2 separate regions of the Homo sapiens genome follow, and region 1 is linked to region 2. Evidence: promoter capture Hi-C in 16 types of primary human blood cells and fetal thymus (Javierre and others, 2016). All regions are on one chromosome and are shown on one strand. Each heading gives the region's core, a stretch centred on a gene start or on the middle of the fragment in contact. The rest is flanking DNA. Distances are from core to core; before and after follow the strand shown. Region 1 overlaps EXOC1-AS1 (EXOC1 antisense RNA 1). Region 2 holds the start of SRP72 (signal recognition particle 72).

The links. Contacts are between HindIII fragments. The CHiCAGO score rates a contact against its expected background, and 5 or more counts as called.
Region 1: a fragment that was not itself captured here is called in contact with the fragment with the promoter of SRP72 in region 2 in 2 of 17 cell types (neutrophils and naive B cells); the score reaches 8.4 in neutrophils.

The regions. Positions count from the first base shown.
Region 1 is chr4:55,938,461-55,941,998 of GRCh38, forward strand. It overlaps EXOC1-AS1 (EXOC1 antisense RNA 1), which reads right to left. Exons shown (of 5, transcript XR_941069.4): 2 at 2,057-2,172; 3 at 397-495. Among named protein-coding and RNA genes, the nearest start is that of EXOC1-AS1, 7.8 kb to the right of the region's middle. The HindIII fragment of the contact is 1,122 bases long and covers 1,704-2,825 here.
Region 2 is chr4:56,466,104-56,469,360 of GRCh38, forward strand. SRP72 (signal recognition particle 72) reads left to right here and starts at 1,514. Exons shown (of 19, transcript NM_006947.4): 1 at 1,514-1,641. The coding sequence starts at 1,533. LOC124900706 (a long non-coding RNA gene) reads right to left here and starts at 1,455. Exons shown (of 2, transcript XR_007058126.1): 1 at 989-1,455. RefSeq lists an enhancer at 1,359-1,568. The HindIII fragment of the contact is 5,513 bases long and covers 1-3,136 here.

The DNA.
Region 1 (3,538 bases), core at 1,015-3,514, 530 kb before region 2:
GACATATCAGTTTTCTTGTTGGTTTTCTCTCTCAGTGCGCCTGCATGTGCTTGCCATTCCATAATTTTAAGTGTATGTATGATATGCATTCCATATGTATGGGCTTTAAGTAACTTATTATAATAAAAGGTTATACCAGATTTGTTTACTGCAGAAAGCATTGGTTCATTGCTTCAGCTTCCTTATCAGATGGTGCCTTATGCTTGTTTTGGTGAGAAAAGGCTGCAGGTTGATTTTCTGACTTCCTTCCCTATTCTCCTGCCTCAATTCCCTCTGAGAGATGTGATCCCCATAAATCATAATAGGTTGCTGAGGGTTGAAGTTCTTTCTTCTATACTTGCTTCCAGCTGAGTGGGACTGCTGGCCCCACCTAACAGGGGACCACAGAACTCTTACCCTGCTCTATCCAGGGGGAAATTAAGAAGTCTGGACTTATTTCTTGTAGGATGATGTCTGGGGCTTCAGGCAACATAGCCATTTGTAGCTTGATAGATTCTAAACATGAAGAAATAAATCTGGTTAGCAAATTTACAGTGTAAGGGCCAAAAATGAACAACCGAAGAATTACAGTTAAGGGTCCTGTAAAATGGGCTATCCAACTTTTTGCAGTTGTTTAAACAGAATTTAGGGTGTTTTGTGCAGTTCATAAATTGGTTATATTAGTTGCCTCAGTCAGATGTCCCACTACCTTGCCTGAGGAGTTAATATAGAAACAACATTCTTCTTTTCGAAAAATGCATAATCCCCTCCGATTAGCTTCGAGGAGACCTAGCCCCCTCCTGTTTTGTAAGACAATGCCTGCCTGGGAATCTATATGTCATTGTTCTTGGATAGCTGCTGTAATTTCTGCCAAAGCCTGTGTTTGTTGTGAAGACAAGTGAAGAGAAATGGACCCAAGTGTGGTTCCTAAAAGTCCTGTTATTGCAGTTGCTAAAGGATGTAATACTGCTGGAACTGCCCTTTTTACAAATGCATGGCTGTGTCTTATATGGAATGGGAATTTTGTACTAGCATTTGCATAAGACAGTCTTGGAAGTAAAGCAGTGATGCCGCAAGTCCCTTTCCATTGGCTCAGAAGACTCATGTACCCTGAATTTCCACATATGAAATAAACTCTTGCCCAGGGTCCAAAGATACTTCATATCCCCATGATGCTAGTTCCAAAGGTGTGTCTGAGCCACTAGAGGAAGTTCCAGTGAGTTGTTCCCATAAAAGTGTTCCAGCCACAGCAAGTTATGCATTAAGCCTAGAGTGGAAAGATAAGCCGAGGTGGAATTTTAAGAATGATCTTTGGACCCCCCAAGCCAAAGCTTGAGCTAGAGGCAAAGATGAATTGTTGATTAACACTGTGGTCCAACCAGTGGAAATATTGGAAGAATTGGTATTACTTGTATATTGAGGTCGCCTTGGATCAGGATACTTAAGGAGGAGGAATTGTTTTTATTTTCCTAGTTTGCAATATGAATTGATTTTTGTTTCTGAGGAATTATAATGTTTCTCTTGATTTGTCCAACTGAGGACAACCTCATATAAACAATTGTTTAGGGATCCCAGAAAGGTCCCATTCGTTTGGTGGGAAGTGAAACAAATTGGGAATTGGCTGTCTGAGGTTAGGTTGTGAAAAACCCTTACAGGATTTGGGGCATTTGTAAAATTTAAATTTGGGTTGTTTCTTATGATCTGAGATAAGACTGTTAGGAATAAGCTTTCCACAGCTGGACTGGGATATGTAACTTCTGACTGGGTGGCAACAGTGACTCTGGCATTGACCTTGACTATATCTTCTAATGGTAATGGTAAAACTTCAGCTGATAGTGATCCTGAGGTACAAATGTAACAAGAAGTTAAGTTAGCGTGGCTAACTGTTGAATCTGTTTTAACACTTGGTATTGAAGCTGGACCCCCAATATTGGTGAAAATAGGATTATGGACATAAAAAGTGGTTCCATTGTGGGGGAAGCAAGCAGTTAAATGATAAATATATATAAATAACTAGGATTACTTACTCCACGGTAACTATGCAACAAAGACACCAGCAAAGTCAGTAGGGATTTACCTATCTTTTGGATGCCTTTTAAACAGGTACTTCAGATCCTCCACAGGTTCACAGGGTAGCGACTGATGGGAGCTTTGGGTTCCAGGTCTGGAGCTTTAGGTATTGCAGGCTTGACCCTGGAAAGATGTATCCAACTATTTAATCCTAACACGTTAACTGCAGAGGGTGGTTATTATAACTTAAAAAGGTCCCTTCCATTGGGTTGTAGCTGCTGAGCAGGTGACCCCTCTTTCCATGTTTTAATAAGTACTCTATCTCCTGACCTAATCTTGGGTTGCTGGTTAGTTCCTCGTATGGAAAGCCTTTCATTCCAGAACCTTTGTAATGCTTGTTGAAATTTTCTCAGATTAATTAGGTATTTTATTAGCCCAGATGTTTCTGGATTAGTTATTCGATCATTAGTTAAGAAGGGTCTCCAGCACAGCATTTCCTATGGGCTCATATTTACTTTTGCCCTTGAGGAGTTACAGAATCTCAAAAGGGGTACGGGTAGTAAACTGACCAAAGTTTCTGATGTTTCCTGGCATAGTTTAGCTAGTGCCCATTTTAGAGTTTGATTAGCTCTTTCTACTTTCCTGGAGGATTAAGGTCTCCATGCTGAACGTAAATAGTATTTAATTCTGAGCACCTTAGCCACCCCTTGAGTTATCTGGGAGACAAAGGATGGGCCGTTATCACTCTGGAGGCTTTGGGATAACTCAAACTGTGGAATTATTTATTTTAAGAGGACTTTTACACCTTCGTTAGCCTTTTCTGCTCTAGTAGGGTAAGCTTCAACTTAGCCTGTAAAGGTATCTATCAGTATTAGCAAAAAACTTGTATCATCTGCAAGCTGGCTCATGGGTAAAGTCCAAATGCCAGTCTTCCCCAGGGTAAGTTCCCCTTCTTTGGACTGGTTCCATTAGTGGAGGGATCTTGTTTCCTGGATTGTTAAATGCACACAGCAAGCAGCCTTGACAGACCTGCTTAGCTACTGAGGCTAAGTTAGACCCAATAAAGACCCTGTTTGCTATGGCCAGAGTGGCATCTCTCCCCATCTGGAAACAGTTGTGCAGGGTTTCTAATAACCTTCCATTGGGCTGCTTGAGGGATATATACTTTTGATCCCATATACTACCAAGATCCTTGTTTCTGTCCCCCTTGCTCCCTTATAATCCGTTCCTCCTGTGATGTGTATTCAGGTTCTACTGGGGAATCATAGAAGGGAAGCAGTGCTAAGATTTTTTGAGATTGCGCCTTGAAGTCCACTGCTTTTGCTTACCTGTCCGTCTTTTTGTTCCCTTGTGCTATAGGAGCTAAGGCCTTTGATACCCTCTACAATGGATTATAGCAATGGCTTTTGGCAAATGTATTGCCTCCAACAACTAGAGAATTTCAGGCCCATGCTCTACAGGCGAGTGGTTCCTAGTTAGTAGTCCTCTTTCTTTCCAAATTGCAGCATTAGCCTTAACCACAAGAAATACATATTTGGAGTCTGTACAG
Region 2 (3,257 bases), core at 264-2,763:
GGGTTGGGGACCCCTGTTCTAAGAGGATGCAACCAGAAGGCTGCCCAGTCTGCAAGATCAAATGTTTCCTCAAAGTAACTTTCAACGTATAACCAGAAAGACTGAAAGACAAAAAGTAGTTAGCAAGGCCGGGCACGGTGGCTTACGCCTGTAATCCCTGTACTTTGGGAGGCTGAGAGAGGGCGGATCACTTGAGGTCAGGAGTTTGAGACCAGCTTGGCCAACACAGTGAAACCCCATCTCTACTAAAAATTCAAAAATTAACCGGGCGTGGTGGCTCATGCTACTTGGGAGGCTGAGGCAAAAGAATCGCTTTAACCCAGGAGGTGGAGATTGCAGTGAGGTTCATCCTGGGTCACAGAGCTAGACTACGTCTCAAAAAAAAAAAAAAAAAAAAAAAAAAAAAGCTAGGTTCCTGAGGGACACAGGAAGTAGTAGAAGTTGTAAAGGTCATGACGAGATATGAGTCTGAAGAGCAGGCCATTCAATGAAATACAACATTCACATCAAGTGAATCACTCACATCGTCTTGGTGTGGTGGCTCATGCCTGTAATCCCAGCACTTGGGGAGGCTGTGGTGGGAGGATTGCTTGAGCCCAGGAGTTCCAGACCAGCTTGGGCAACACGGCAAGATCCCCGTCTCAAAAAAAAAAAAAAATCACTCACATCAAGTGTACCCAACAGATATCCATTCCCTTCGTACATCTGAACACATCTTGATATTAACGGTCGCAAGCAAACCCTAATATTTTATATCTCTAGAACAAATATAGTATCCCCATTTCACAATCGGGAAAACAGACTCCCAGAAGCTAAGTAACTTGTTTATTGTCAGACATCTAGTGAGTCGCAGAGCCAGGGAACTGACCACGGGCATTTTCACCCCATTACCCTTCCAGCTTATTGCCGACTGCTCCCGAAGGGAGCGAAAAGGACAGGCAAAGGGTTTCACCAAACCCTTTGTAATGGGAGATTCTTGCCTTCTTACCTTTCCTCACGTTTGCTTCTCTGCCAGAATGTCTTCCCGCACTTTCCCCAGAACCCAAGTTCTCCTAATCATCTTTCAAGATCCCTTTCCCTCAACCACAGATGAGCCGTGCCTATTTCTCCTTCAAATGACTCCCTATGGCTTCTAGTTGGTAGTCTTTTATTTACCACCTCATAGTCCTTTTATTTATATCCCATAAATGATCGTCCGGCCCCGCACCGTGGGACCAGGACGCTGCCTCGACCATGGCGGTCTCCTGGAAACAGGCTGCTTTGAGCCGAAACTGGTGACCGTTTCCCAACCCCGTCCAGGAGTCCGACGCCTCTTTTCTCCAGGCCAACTTCAAGTGAGGTGTATCAACTCTATCCGCACAAATTTCTTGCCACGAGAGCAGAAGATTATGATCTCTGATGCTGCCTTAGGGCTGAAGACACTCCCAACTCGGCGACGCTTAGCAATCATCGACTTCCTCCTCCTCTTGGCTGCCTCGGAGATCCTGTTCCGGGGCAGAGGTCTCCCCGCCCCGCCCCTCGTCTCCTCCAAGATGGCGAGCGGCGGCAGCGGGGGGGTGTCAGTACCTGCGCTGTGGAGTGAAGTGAACCGGTATGGCCAGAACGGCGACTTCACGCGCGCTCTCAAGACCGTCAATAAGAGTAAGTGTCGGGGTGGGCACTGGGGCGGGCCCAGGCCGGCTGGAGGATGCGGCCTGTTTCCGGCGCGCGAGACCACCTCGCGCGGGAGGCACGGGAAGGGGAGACCCCCGAAACCCCCCCGTCTATTGTCCGCCCGGCTCGGGCCCTAGCGCCCGGAAGACGCAGGTCTCACTCCTCGGCTTCACCAGGCCAGCCTGGGGTCCCTGGTTGCTTACAGCCACGTGTACTTCTCTTTTTACCCTCCGCGGGAAGCGAGGGAAGGTTTTAAAGAGACCGCAGCTCCCGGAGTCCATTTCAAACTGTTTTCTTATTTGACTCCTTTGCTGCTTTATTTCACAAATATTCCAAAGTGCCTCCTTTTCTTCTTCGTCTTGAGCGCAGTGATCAGGACTCTATTGCTGAGGGAGCTTGTTCTCTTTGGCCGCTAAAGGGGGAGGAACCTGCTTGGGACACGTAGTTTAGAGGCTGGTGCTAACCAGGTGGAAGCTGTACGGGTTCTACGGGGCGAGAGGAAAGGGCTGGATCTGGATGTCAGGCCTGTCATTCCCATAGATGAGATCTCTTCAGTGTTATTAAGTTAGGAAATATGTGTGTGGAAGCACCAACACTTGAAATAATGTCGGAAGAAAAGTTTGGCCTGTTTTTTTGCCCTGTAAGGGATGATTTCGGTTTTTACCGCCTTTGGTGTGAGGTTTAATTCATCATATTCTTTTGTTCCTTACTACATACCTGGAATATGGCCATGCTGCTTAATGTTCTCGGTGGTGCGCAGTTCTTCTCTACTGAAGATACAGCCTGTGCATGTTAGATTTGGAAATGTAATTACCAAGGCAGGGCTTAGCTGTTCAGAGTAGCAGTAACCTAAAAGGTGTGTCAGTAACATGCAAAGCTATCTAAGTAATTTTCAACACTCTAGTACTGGGTTAACGTGAAAAGTAGTGATTGTGCCCACAGTGCACTTTTGGTGATTTCAGACATTGAGGAAAATAGCTACGAATTAGAATTATTTGATCCCTAAATTTGTTTGAATTAACTCTAGCCTTCCAACCAGTACTGTATACTTAGTATAGTATTTTGCAGGAATTCTTTAATCAGCAAAGATTGTCAACTTGTTTACCAGTATGTTTTCTTAATTGGTAGAAATTCTTGTGATTCTTTGAGAATTGGACTTCTGTAGTTGCACAGGAGCAAGAGTAACTATGATCCTGGTCATTTTAACACCGAACAGTTGTTAGCGTTGAAACTTGCCACCTGAGTTCTTCCTTATACTTTGGTCATCTTAGTTGAAAAGGGGAAATTTTAATGATTTTTGGAAACGTTGCCAGCAAGATAAATTGCCTTTGTATTATACTTTATAAGATTTTTCCAAAATATTCATTTCATATTGTCAGTAACCTTATTAAATAGGTAATGCTTTTCTAATCATTTTGTAGCTAAGAAAACTGAGATTTGGCTGTTAAGTGATATGCCCAATACCTCAAAGCATTTAGTGGCAAGCTTGCACCAAACCTAGGTCATTTGCTTCCAAATTCTACCTGAACTTTTTCCCTGTGAAGTAATGAACTATGTAGAATGTAGCATGCATTTCAAGATGAAATATCTGGAGAAATTGCTTC